Linked DNA regions of Homo sapiens: region 2 is linked to region 1. The links are contacts of gene promoters, found by promoter capture Hi-C in blood cells and fetal thymus (Javierre and others, 2016). All regions are on one chromosome and are shown on one strand. Each heading gives the region's core, a stretch centred on a gene start or on the middle of the fragment in contact. The rest is flanking DNA. Distances are from core to core; before and after follow the strand shown. Region 1 holds the start of SMARCA5 (SNF2 related chromatin remodeling ATPase 5). Region 2 holds the start of LSM6 (LSM6 homolog, U6 small nuclear RNA and mRNA degradation associated).

Region 1 (7,006 bases), core at 2,604-5,103:
CTTTATAAATTACCCAGTCTGTGGTATTGTTGTAACACAAAATGGACTAAGATAGATGTTTAGTACATTTAATCACCTGATAAAAAGTTTTCCTTATAGACTCTATTCACAAGCCTAGAACATACCATTTTTTCTTCATAGGTAGGATCTGGTTCTTGGATTTCCTTTTGCTTTCCAGGTGACGCATCATCAAATATTTCCTGGTAGAAAGAAATAATTAAATAGAATTGGTCTTCGAAAATAGTAAACATACCATTATAGACCAATTTCTGACCAAAACACATCTTAAATAATACATTCTCACCCCAAACTTCCTAGAAACTTAAACAGCTGTCATCTAAGCTAACAGAAAAACTGATAAAATGATATTAGATACTATGGGGATAACAACGTATTTAACCCATATATATAAACTGTATGGTTGTTGCCAAGATTAGAACACAAGATTATCTTCATCATCCTAAAAGAAAACTACATTTAATACAAGCCAATCTGTTTCTCTTTTTCTGTAATAACCATGAAACCAAACTAAATAGTATAAAATGTGGGGAAAAGTTCCCCTTTTGTCATAAAACTACAGTATCTACTGTGCTACCACACAAATGTCTACAAAGAAATCAGAATTAGTCACCCTGATTTCCACCTTCTGGAATATTACAAAAACTTTATCTCGCAGCCTAAATTGAATACTCTAACTACAGTCTGATTCCTAAACTAGTAATAAATGTTATTCTTGCAAATATATTTATCCTGACATTCATATGTCACAAGCAACAAAAAACAACTTCTACACTGCAAAGTTCTATTCATCCATTAAAAAAAATTGGCAGAAGTAATCTTCATTAATGATGCACAAATCTATGCTAGGCAATATATGCTATAATAAAACTATCTGTGACCAAAAAGTTGTGGGGAGGAGATCTGGTACGGTACTGGAATAGAAGGTAAAATGACCTTAAGTCAAGTCTAACTTCATTGTTAAGACCCTTGGCACTTGTGTGACCCTATGTTCATCATAAATCTCTGGTCTACATATGTAAGTGACAAAGCCACCTACCCAGTCCAGTTTACAAAATTCCAAAATGCCATGAAATGCAACCTACAAAAATAAAATGTGCTTCAGGCATCTTGACATCACATTATTGGTATACAGGTGACTATTTAATCAATCTAGTCAATAGAGATGAGGATGAACACAGAAGAGTTCCACACTGCCAAAAGGATAACTAAAAAACAAGTGCTCCATTGACCTATTAGTATCAAGCAAAAAGAAAAAAAGTAACTGAATACATAGGAAGGCTATTTCTGGGAAAATCAGCTTTGTCACCAAAAAAAAAAAAAAAAAAAAATTCATGAATGCTGGGTTTACTCTGTTTAGAAAAACACCTTAGATCATACTTCCAAACAAGAAAAAGTCATTTATAAAATATTCATTTTCCAAGTGCAAAACAGATTAAGTTGTGACATATATATTAAGCATGTGTGCTCAAACTTAGTTTATATCATGAATTGCAGTAATTCTGAATTTTGTTAAACAGGAAACTGACATTTTAAAAGACAAAAAAAAAAATCACACTATAATGTCAACCAAAAAAAAAATGTGTCAGTGATAAGATGGATAAAAAAATAAAATTCCTAATATTTCTATACTAGGAAGGTAAAAATAACAATGTTATTCAATAAATTGAACCGCCAAATATGTTTTTTTTGGTAAGAACATGGCAGAGCAAGATGGGTGGGAAACGGCTCACTTTTAAAGGCAGATCCGAGTTTTATTACAGGTTCTACCTAGTAGAACTCAATTTCCCCATCTGGCAAATGAAAATATCACTAATTTAATACGGTAGTGATAACATCTATACTCACGTTTGAACTTAAAATCAATTTTCATTTAAAATAGCAACTTCAAGTCAAAAATGTTGACTTGCTTTAGGCTTAAAATTACTCTGCATTCAGATATTAATAAGACCTCTGGTGAAACATTCATTTTTCCAAAGTTTGGATGGCAGACCCCTTTGAGAAGCTGAGGAAAAACTATAAACAATTTTTGTAGAGAACTGCACATTTACACATAATTGCTTTGTGTCAAACCCCTTAAGCCTTGGAACAGAAATCCAAGTTAAAGAGCCCTAGTAACCCAAAAGAACCATTTCCTTAAGGAAAAAAAAGCAACACTGAATATATTTTAATTTGGAAGTAATCTTATCTTAATCACTCAAAACTACAGGAACTATCAGGAGTTCCTATGTCACTAAACCTACCCTCACCACTAAAAGTTCTTTAAATGATTACTAACATTAATGTTACTTAACCCCAGCTACCCAAATATAACTACTGTGCCAAAAGCCTCAATGGTAAATTACGCTACCATTTTCTTACTGTATAATGATTCTGCATCAAGACTCATCTTCGGAGCAGTATTACTTTCATTCTGTCTAAGGATAGGAAAATCCCAGAAATCTTTGGGCTCCGACTCACAAAATATCTCAAAACAGGTCGAAGGCCAAGAAAATAAAAATTGGAAGGAGCAATTACTTTGTTCCCAGATGCAAAGCCTGGAAGCATATCCAATTTACCCGCCTGGCAGCTTCCCCCATCTTTCCAGCCCCCTCAGTACTGTCAGCATCCCCTGCCCAACCCAAACCCATAAGTCTCGGCAGCGAGTGGTACTAATTTTTTTTTTTCTTAAGGCCAGAGGCCAAAAAGAGAAAAGTGCCGGACTGAGAGCCAACCAACTGCGCCTGGTTCTCTAATTCATTCCTACACTTATTCATCCCCCCTAAATTAGACGGGGGATCCGAGACAGCTGCTGCTGCCTTGGTTGCTTCCCTTCCAGTGGAATAGTGCCTGGGAGGGGCCTTCTCTCCCTTCACAGAAGCAGCTGCGCCCCGCTTATCCCCACTGCGCACTCGGCCATCCAGCTCTCGCCATTGTTTCTGCCCACAACAGATACCGCCCCTGCAAGGACCGGGAAGAAGAAAAGGAGGCCCAAGTCCTCGGACGCGCTGCTTTTAAATGCCTCCTTCACCCCGCCCGTGCATCCCGCTCCTAAGGGGTCATCTCCTCGCCCTTCCCCGAAGTTTGGTGGAAACTAAAAACCACATTCAGAGGTAGGAGAGGGAATTATGGGAGTCTAGTGGGAAAAAAACGATGGGTCCCCCGGGCCACGGTAACCAAGAACATCTGTTCACTGAGAGCGTTCAAATATTTGTCAGGATTCACGAAAGAGACAAATAATTTAAATGTGAGGAGCCAGAAATCCATTTTGCTTAGCTCGAATAGGGTAAGAACAAGGGAGCAAGAGTGAGAGCATCATTTCGTATCCACAGGGTGTGAAGCTGAGTCTGGTGCAGAGAGAGAAACCCGGCTCTGCGTCCGATCGCCACGATCCGGCGAGGGAGCCAGCTCCTCCTCCCCGCTGCACCCGCTCCCCATGCCGCAAGTCGCCCTCACCTCCATCTCGGCGTCTGCGGGACCAGCGCTGGCCGCAGACGCAACCGCCTGCGCCGCGACGCCTTCGGGGCCGCCTTTGTTGCTGCTGTTGCTCCCGCCGCTGGCGATCGAGGCTGCGGGCTTGGAAGGCGCGCTCTCGGGAGGCGGGGGTGGCGGAGGCTCGGCCGCGGACGACATGATGTTCCGTCTGCGTCACCCGCTGCTGCCAGAGGCCCGAGTCCGGCGGGGATGGACGGGGAGGCCTAGGCCTGGATGCTACGTCGCAATAAACTGGTGGAGGAGCGAGACTCCCACCCGAGCGCTCCCCTGCGCCGCGCCTCCGCGACGGGCCTGAGCCGGGCCCAGGAGCTGCACACTCCCAAACGTTCTGCTCTTCCGCGGGGCTCTAGGTTCCACCGGCGCTTACCTCACGGCGGGAATCACGTCGACGAGGGTGGGCGGGGCCAGACGGGTCACTGAGGTCAAGGAAGGCCGGCTGATTTAGAGAAGGGCGGAGGGTTGGGGGAAGGGAAAAGGAAAACGAAAGAGAGACTGAGGCTGGGAAAACGCTTCGCCGCCTCCTCCTCTTCCTCTGGAAGATAACATCTATCTCGCCAGCATCCAGGACGACGACCTACGCCACCGACTTTCAACACTCGCGAGATTCCTTATTGGCTCACTGACTGGGTCCTGAGCGCGCATGCGCATACTGCCCTCCTCACCCTTGGCCCGCCCTCTTCCAGATCTCTAGCCGGCTCGGGAGAGAAGAGTGGGCGGGACCTCCAGGGAGCGCTCGGAGGTGTAGGTTTGTGCGCCTGCTGCTTGGCAGGACGCGAGCTCAGTGTTTTAGGCTTTCGTAACGGCTCACGGTTCTCGCTGTGTCTTCTGTGCCTGACAGGGGTTGGCGGCACTACCGGAAAACTTGTCTGGGTTTTGCGCTGCCCATTCAAACTTGGAAGTCTTGTGTCTGGCCCCAAAACTTCTGCCGTATCCGCTTAGAGGCGTGACGCCACAGCCTTGACGACGTTATGGTTACCCCAAGTGAAGTCTCACGGTTTTTTGTTGTTAGAAAAAAAAAAAAAGTCCGTTAGTGTGATTTTTTTCTTTTTTCTTTTTTTTTTTTTTTGCCTTCTCATGTTAGCTGCGTCGGTTATTTCTAAATACCCTCCTTAGGCACAGAGTTAAATGATATTTCTTCTGAATTTATATGCCAAAGTTAAGCAAATAACGTGCACACTACCATGGAAGTGAGAAACACGAATAATCAATATATGGGGAAGATAGGTGGTGCGATGTAATCTTTTCCCCAAGCATCAAACATGAAAATTAAAACGTACATTCTCCTTAAGTGTTAACAAATATTCAGCACTGATTTTGTATACTGCCTTAGGCAGCCTTCAATGCAGCTTAAGGGCCTTGTGCATTCATCGCCTACAAAATTTAAATACATTGTAGTCTGTTTGATAACGAATCTGCATACTACAGTAGATTACCTGCCCAGTACAGGGTCTTTTTTATCTTTTTTTATTCCTCATATTCAGTATTCTCTAAATGTTTGTTGAGTAAAGGAGACACATTTTTCGAGAGTTGAGGTTTGAGCTAACTGGTTATGTTGAATTCCAAACAGAAGGGATCCCCTTTGAATATATAGCCTGCAAATTTTTTAACTAATGGAATGATAATTCTTAAATGGACATCTGGAAAAATGTCCCCACTCCACTAGAAATGCTAGTTCTTAGACTATAAGGAAATGTCTAAGGATATATGCAAAGATGAATACCTACAATGATGTTCATCATAGTCTTCATATATGACTGCAAAAAGCTAACAACAGTAGGCTGAATCCAGTATTAAAAGTTAGGTGTTTAAAACTGTCATACACCCAGAAAATGAACTATTAACCTTTAACAACCATTAATGTAGAATAATGGTTGTTTTGTGTTGTTTTGTTTTCAGACAGTTTCTGTCGCCCAGGCTGCAGTGCGGTGGCATGATCTCAGCTCACTGCAATCTCCAACTCCCAGGTTCAAAGGATTCTCATGACTTAGCCTCCGGAGTAGCTGGAATTACAGGCGTGCACCACCACGCCTGGCTAATTTTTGTATTTTCAGTAGAGACAGGGTTTTGCTGTTTTGGCCAGGCTAGTCTCAAACTCCTGGTCTCAAGTGATCTGCTCGCCTAGGCCTCCTAAAGTGCTGGGGTTACAGGCGTGAGCCACCGCACCTAGCCAAAGAATGTTAATTTATAAAGTGTTAACTGAAAAATTTGGTTTAACAGTTCAAAAATGTAGATAAAAGTTGGAAGCATATTTACAAAAGTATTGAAACTGATCGTTGCTGGTTTTTTGTTTTTGTTTGTTTGTTTGTTTGTTTTTTGACAGTGGCTTGCCCTGTCTCCTAGGCTGCAGTGCAGTGTCACAGTCGTGACTCACTGCAGCCTCAGCCTCCTGGGGTCCAGCAATTCTCCCACCTCAGCCTCCCAAGTAGCTGGGACTACAGGTGCATGCCACCAAGCCCAGCTAATTTTTGTATTTTTTGGGTGTAGACAGGGATCGCCATGTTGCCCATACTGGTCCTGAACAACAATTAGGGCTCAAGCCATCTACCTGCCTCAGTCTCTTAAAGTGATGGGATTACAGGTGACAGCCACTGTGCCAGGCTGCCGAATTTGCCTATTATTGTATTAAGAAAACTTTTTTTAAAAAAATTTCAGCTTTACTGAGGTATAATTCACAAAATTGTATATATTTAAGGCATACAATGTGATGTTTTGATATATAAACACGTTGTGAAATGATTACCGCAATCAAGCTAATAAGCATATACATCACCTCTTATATTTACTGCCTGCCAGCATGGTGAGAACATTTAAGATTTACTCTCAACAAATTTCAACTATGCAAACAGTATTATTAACAATAGTTACCATGCTGTGCATTACATCTCCAGAAATTATTCATCTTGTATAACCAAAACTTTGTATCCTTTGACCAACATCTCCCCATTTTTAGAAAGCTTATTTTTAATTTTAAAAAATGTTCTTTCACCGAAAAAAAATTATGTGGAAGGGTAAGAAAGTGGTGTCTAGGGTGGAACCTGACACATACTTAATAAATACTTGATGAATAATATTTTTATATTTACATTAAATAGACTAAAACATTAATTTAGCATTCGAAATGTTTCTTCACTTTTTATAGTCTTAGGTAGAAATCTTGGGTCTTGGTCTGGAAACCCTAAAGTTATATGTAGGTATATAAATGAAAGGATCTTAAGTCTGATAACTATTTAAGGAAAGCAATAAATAGCAAGGAAAACAATGCACATAAATAAATAAAAATTGCCTCCAAAATGGCGATTGTCTTTTAACATGTGCATTTACATGTGAGTTTCTCATATGATCATATGAAAGCTGTATTAGAATCATTCGGGGGAAAATTATAGAGAAAAGATGGAAACTAGCAAGAGGACACAGAATGCTCGAACTCAGTTATCTAGCATAAGTGACAGAGAAAAAGATTTTTGGCAGAGTTTAGAACCAGAAAGGAAAAGCAGAGAAGAGCTACAGAAAAGAC
Region 2 (6,991 bases), core at 2,991-5,490, 2.7 Mb before region 1:
GTCAGTTTCCCAAACTTGAATCATTAGGATCAGCTGGAGATTCTACTCAGTAGTTCTGGGGTAGGAGCCAGCAATCTATTTGAACAAGCCTAGGAAATAACTGGCAAGGGGAAATACTGTTGTCAATGATAGGAAACAGGGGTTTTAAGCAGGAACTTGCTTGGGTTCCACTCTCTACTTTCCATAGCAGAGTGCAGATGCCCATCTCACCTACTTTTGGCATCACATAGTTTGGCATTTGATTTTATTTGCTATAACCTGTCACTATGCCCTCTTTTGTATTCTTTATGTGGGTCTTTTCTCCCTCAAAATACTGTAAGCCACATGACAAGAGGGGCTCACAAGCTTCTCATCTGTTCTCTAGAATATCTACATTCTACTAAACCTCTTGGAAAAAAAATACTTCTAAGGTTATTTGGAAAAGAGTATATGGGTTGCCTCAAACACATTTTATCCATCACTTTAGGAAAGCCGTATCTTTTACATTAGTCTTCATTAGGCTTCCTTGCTACTCCCTGTTACTTAATGACTTGCCCATAAATCCATTTTGTATGAGTAAATTGGTCTTGACACCACAATTTTTCCCATCACTTGGCTCAAGTAATTTTAAGTTTTCATCTTTTAAATTGGATAAAGCAGAAGAAACAGTTCTGACAATTTCTGAAGCAAGAGATGAGTCTCTTGAACCATAAACACATAAGAGGAAAAAGACCTTTCTTCAGGGTCACCCTGGTAAAACTTCTCCTTTCAAAATTAAAGTCATAATCACTCTCTATACCTCCTCTCCCTCCCCTGACTCCTACTCAGGCTTGTTTTAAATGACCTATTTTCATAAATGACTATTAAGTCAAAGGCAGTATATTTTCTGTCAGAAGCTACTGAGAGGTCTAGTATGAAAACATCTGCAAAGTGCCCTGCAGGGAATTTTTTTCTTTTTGGTAAAAGAATGAAGAAAAAAAAGAACTTTTATTAACCCAACTATGTGCTACCAGAGTTAGATTCATAAGCAATTTACAGAGAAACCCTGTGAGGTGGAAAGCAAAGCCAAGGCTGACCCCAAAGCCCAAGCCCTTTCACAGGTACAGCTGCCCTTCTGAATATGTTAAGATTCTCTGGTTAAATCTTGGGGAATCGCAATAGAGGCGGTGAGAAATCCAGTTGGAGAGTAGCAGCACTGGGGAAAAAAAATACCTAACGTGACAAAGTGCTGTAAATTAGCCTCAGAGAAATACAATGGACAGATGCAAAGAAATCTATCTCATGTGATTTGAGTTATGCCACTGAGCAGAAGACATGAAAATCCTTATTTCTTGGCAATGTTTACCTGTAAGTTTTTACCTACTCCTGGCGTATTTACAGTTTAGGGTGAAAAGAATTTGAAAAGCAAAAATTGCAAGGAAACATTACAATCCAAGTAATTGCAGCACTAGACTAATAGATCAGTGTCTGAGGAGGCGATCAGATAGGCAGAAGAACAGCTCTCTAAATCCTCCCTTCGGACACAGTGGAGTTCCTCGCTGTCTTTTGAAGGCTTCATACCAATCCCTCCTTCCTCGGCAGCAGGGGCTACTTCTCTCCCTCTCTCCCAAAGGCGAAGTGAGTCCACTCAGAGCACCTCTTTCCACTCTCAGTCATGGCCCTTATCAGGCTGTTTCGTAATTTTTCCATTTGCTGACTGGTCTCCCGTGCGAATTTAAAGCTTCTTGGGGACAGGGAAAATATCTTACTCACTTGGTGTCCCTGGTACCTAAGCACACTACCCAAGTCTGTGGAAGAGACATTCAAGGCCAGTGCCAAGCAAAATCCCTGTCCAGCCCCCATCAGCCCAAACTATGGATACAGTGACCAGTAGGATCATGCATGTACTTCAACAAATACTAACCAAGTAATCTCTATTATGAGCACCAAAAACTGAGAAAACAACTGTTTGTGTCATTCAAGAACCAGCTGTTTCCAAATCTAGAGATGCTTGTTAAAATGCAGATTTTCCCGAAGTCTACTCAGGTAAAGGCACTGTATTTTACATTTTATAAAGTTCTCCAGATAATTTCTATAAGCAAATGGTTCTCATCTAGGGGCAGTACCCCCAACCCTGCCCCACCCTGCTCAGGGACACTTGGAAATATCTGGGGACACTGAACTGTCATGACTGAGGAAGGTGGTGCTACTGCTATCCTAGTGGGTAGAGACCAGGGATGTTGCTAAACATTTTACAACTAACAGGACGGCCCTCCACAACAAAGGACTGCCCAGCACAAAATGTCAATGGAAGTTGACAATCTCTGCTATAAGCCCTAAATAAAAAAATAAATAAAAATAAATAAAAATAAAAAAAATTGTTCTTTGGTTTTAAAGTGAGGAGTTTTAAAGAAATCTCCAAGGTACCGCAAATGATAACCAAAAGCTACATTCTAACCAAATGATGGAGTGTAGGTTATAATTAATCAGGGGTGTTTTATTCTAACATATAGGGAACCTGAAAACAACTGTCAAAATCTTGAAGGGGTTGCCATTCTAAATAATGGATTTCTAGTCTTGGCCATGAAAATGATCACTTTCCAATTTTTCAGTGTTACAGGTCTCTCCGATGATTAAAATCTGTTAGTACACTTTTAAAAGGAGAGAATAACCCAGGTGATGTAAACAAATTTTTAAATTCTAGTATCTACTATGCCACAGTTCAGTGAGAGACTGCCTGATACAGCACAGAGTACTCACTTGGGAGGCAGGAAACCTGAGTTCTAATCCCAGCTCTGCTACTTAATTAGCTGTGTGACTTGGATAACTCATAATTTCACTTCTCATGGCCCCAGGTTCCTCATCTGCAATATAAGGGAGTTATGCCAGATGACCACTTAAGTCTCTTCCTGCCCTAACATTCAGGTAGTCTAACGCATTAACGCCAGTGACACACACACACACACACACACCACAAACACAAGCCTCTCAAGATTTCTGCACAATATTTAAGCAAGTAAAATTACCAAACATCTCTAAAACTTTTTTGGAAAACACTGCAGCAATGTGTATGAAGGCCTAAAACAGACCTTTCAGATGACAGCATCTAATCTGATAATTTCACTTCTGAGAATCTAGTCCAAGGAAATAATCTAAAAAATAGGGGGAAAAGAGTTTATCAAAGCACTATCTGGGATGCTAAGATGATGTAAAAATTCAAAAACAATCTAATGTCCCACAATCGGGAAATGACTGAATAATTTACGGGACCTAAACTGGGACCCACAATGATAGGACAATCAAAAGAAGATACAAAATTAGAATAATATTTAGGAAGAGTTTTTAAATGGAAGTGGAAAACTACACTGTTAAGTGATTAAACATGTACACTCTTAGTTCAAGTAGAAGCTAGCACATACAAGAGAAAATGATCGTAGGTGAAAGGGTTCAGTGAATATTATTTTCTTCACTAAAGTCTTCTATGTTTGCAATTTTCTACAATAGTCACGTATTACTAAGAGCAGTGGGGCAGGGTAATCCGCATCATCTTAATCCTACACACCTTAAAAATGCCTGCTATGCAGGTGTGCGGACACGCATACGCACAGAAAACCTTGGGCGATAGGACTTAAGACCATACAATCGGGTTCCTCGACCTGACAACTTGGTAAGACAGGCGAGTCCAGCCTTTAATTCCTGTGGTCAGGCGCAGCCACCCCGATGTAGGAGAGGGTTCGCAATTCCCTGAAGCCCTCCTGGAAGACAGGCGAAGCCTAGGCCTGGGTTCGGGATCCGCTTTCCCGCCGAATCTTGGGATTAGCGTCGGGGCTCCCTGGGGAACTTCAACAACCTGAATTGATCTCGGACGCCAACTCGGTAGGAGCCGGGACGGTGCCGCTCCTCTCCGCGCAGTCTAGGCGCCTCGCTGAGGGCGGTCCCGGCGCCCACCATCAGACCTCTCCCAGCCATTCCATGCGCGGAGAGCTTGGACGCGGCATTTCGCGGGGACCCGCCACCCAGCGGTCCCTTCCCGGAGCCCCAGCCTGTTCACCGCAGGCCCTTTCCGGGGCTGCCTCGCCCGGCCTAGGGCCGCTGCAGCCGCCGCTCCACAGCGCGACTGAACACTGGGGCACCGAACCTGGGGCTGCGCCCGGCCCCGTCGTCGGCCCGCGCAGCGGTGCGGCTCACCTCGCCGGCGGGAACCAGAACCCTCACTCCAGGCGCCCCACGAGCCCGGCCGCCGCGGATGATCCCAGCCAAAACCGAAAGCGCCGAGGCAGGGGCACTTTTCTGCCTCAGCCAATCAGTGCTCTTCTCTGCTACGGCAGCCCGCTGGGGCCGAAAAAGCCTGTCAGCACCAAAGCGCGCAAATCCAAGATTCCTGGTTTGTCTAGTAGCAAAATTGGTGCAGTGGAGTTCCTCTAACAGAAATCTGAGTACAAAACAAATACAATACAAAACAAAAACAAAATTCCAGGAAACTAGAAGTGATCTTTTGGGCAGGATTTATTTACAGAAGTGTAAAAAATAACTTGAAGTCATAGGAAACTGGAATTTACTGTTTAAGTAACGGCATTGTGTACCCAGAAACGTCCTTGAATAGTTTAAAGCAAATAAATAAATAAATGAAACACCTCAAGTCTTTAAATCTACCTCTGGATATTGATTAAATGTGTGAAGACTTAAGCCATTTTAGCAAGAGACTGTTTCCATGGCAATGTTAATTGATACAAAAATAATCAAAATCACTCAAGTAACTCCAAATTATAATGACATTAATTGTGTTACATTACTAGTTCCTATTGGAAATGGTGTGCAGACTTATTTCAGTGCTACTATGGGAACTTGGTTTGGAATTTTGCATGAATTCTCAATACTCTTTCTATTAATGGAATTGAAAGGGAAAAAGAAGAGAACTGTTACACCAGGACTTGATTCGTTTTTCCCCCTCCACATATACTCTCATCAGTTGAAAACTTATACTTTAATTATATTTATGATTTGTAACACTATACACAGAGTGATAAGATCTTTCAACACAGATCCTTAACCCCATTAGGTGTTATAAAATCTAAGATGCAAAATTTTTTTCGAAGATAAAGAGTTCCTCCCTTGTAAACTTCTTTTGGTTAAAGGCAGAAGAAATGAACTTTTGATTGATATCAGGGACAGAAAACAACTGGATATGATTTGTTAAAGAATAGAGACTTCCTTATATCCTTCTATAAAAGTTCAGTTTGGATAAAGACCGAACAGTTACTGATTTATTGTGAGGGCTGTATTTGAAGTTCTTGCAATATAAAATACAATGTAAATAAAAATTTTAAGAAAAGTACCATTTAAATCAAATAATTACGTGCAAAGAACAAACATAATAGGATAAAAAGCCCTGTTCCTAAAAACTTTCTTTGCAAACGACATCAAATTGCACATTCCTTACTGATTGTTTAAATTATTAAAAAAAAAAAGAAAATTTTTGATTCAAACTTCTTTCCCTTTCCTACAGAGCCCTAATCGAGCCGTTAACACTAGTGTGGTGGGTAGGGAGCCATGAGGAGTTTTAAGGGCCTAGTTCATCTGCTGAGCAGCTGCAACCTTCTCTAAGGGGAGTAGCTGGGTAAGGGCCCAGTTTGACACACGGGGTGGGCATCCTGAATTAATTCATGAGCTAACAAGCTTATAAAAAGTGTGGCTGTTCCCAAAAGCCCCTCAGCAGCTTATAAATGACTTTTACTAACTCACAAGGCAATTTTCCGTATTTCCCAGGTTTTTGCTTTCAGCATCTTTTATGATGCAAAGAAAACACTGCAAGACTTTTGGTGAATACTAGTCTTCAAAACCCTGAATGTAAACATTAATTTATTAAGGAGCCTTAAAGTCATAAAAATATTTTGGCAAGCTTTAGTTTAACTTATGTAGTTTAGTTTCATTTAGTTGTTAGGACTGATGAACCTACACTGACACATCATTATCATCCAAAGGCCAAAGTTTACATTAGGGTTCACTCTTGGTGTTGCACATTCTATAGGTTTTGACAAATGCATAATGAAATGTACCCACAATTACAGTATCATACAGAATAGTTTCACTGCCCTAAAAATTCTCTGTGCTCCACCTATTTATCCCTTCCTCCCCACTGGCAACCGCTGATCTTTTTTCTGTCTCCAAAGTTTTGCCTTTTTCCACAATATCATATATTTGGAATCATACCGTACACAGTTAGTGGTGCATACACTGCACCACCCCACTGTGTAGCCTGTTCAGACTGGCTTCTTTCACTTAGAAATATGCATTTAAGACCCCTCTGCGCCTTTTCATGGCTTGACAACTCATTTCTTTTAAGTTCTGAATAATATTCCATTATTTGGATGTACCACAGTTTATTTATCCATTTACCTACAGAAGGACATCTTGGTTGCTTCCAAGTTTGGGAAGTTATGAATAAAGCTGCTATGAATATGTGTATGCAGGTTTTTGTATAGAAATAAGTTTTCAGCTTATTTGGGCAAATATCAAGGAGTATGACTGCTAGATCATATAGCAAGGGTATGTTTAGTTTTGTAAGAAACTGCCAAACTGTCTTACAATGTGGCTGTACCATTTTGCATTCCCACTAGGAGTGAATGAGAGTTTCCATTGTTCCACATCCTCATGGGCATTTGGTGCTTCCAGTCCTTTGGATTTTGACTAGTCTAATAGCTGCTTAGTGACTATCTCATAGTTGTTTAAAGTTGTAATTCCCTAGTGACATATGATATGGAGGATCTTTCTATATACTTATTTGCCATATGTATATCTTTGGTTGTTCAGGTCTTTGGCCCAATTTTGAATCAGTTTGTTCTTTCTTTTTGTTGAGTTTTAAGAGTCCTTTGTATATTTTGAATAATAGTTCTTTATCAGATATGTGTTTTACAAATATTTTCTCCCAGTTTATGGCTTGTCTTTTCATTCTCTTGAAGCTATTATGCTTAAAATAGACAAATGCAGATATATAAATGCTAAGAGAACTCTTGCCACTTCATTGTTTGTCCCT

What was found. The method cuts DNA at HindIII sites, captures the fragments that hold promoters and counts their contacts. A CHiCAGO score of 5 or more calls a contact.
Region 2: a contact is called between the fragment with the promoter of LSM6 here and the fragment with the promoter of SMARCA5 in region 1, in 1 of 17 cell types (activated CD4 T cells). The highest score is 9.1, in activated CD4 T cells.

Annotation. Positions count from the first base shown.
Region 1 is chr4:143,510,549-143,517,554 of GRCh38, reverse strand. It overlaps SMARCA5 (SNF2 related chromatin remodeling ATPase 5), which reads right to left and starts at 3,853. Exons shown (of 24, transcript NM_003601.4): 1 at 3,454-3,853; 2 at 126-200. The coding sequence starts at 3,630. It overlaps SMARCA5-AS1 (SMARCA5 antisense RNA 1), which reads left to right and starts at 2,718. Exons shown (of 2, transcript NR_104027.1): 1 at 2,718-3,110; 2 at 3,330-4,083. RefSeq lists enhancers at 3,233-3,352, 3,413-3,472, 3,763-4,132, 4,163-4,232, 4,263-4,352 and 1 more. The HindIII fragment of the contact is 18,533 bases long and covers 1-6,448 here.
Region 2 is chr4:146,172,967-146,179,957 of GRCh38, reverse strand. LSM6 (LSM6 homolog, U6 small nuclear RNA and mRNA degradation associated) reads right to left here and starts at 4,240. Exons shown (of 4, transcript NM_007080.3): 1 at 4,147-4,240. RefSeq lists a silencer at 4,031-4,090. The HindIII fragment of the contact is 3,935 bases long and covers 1,702-5,636 here.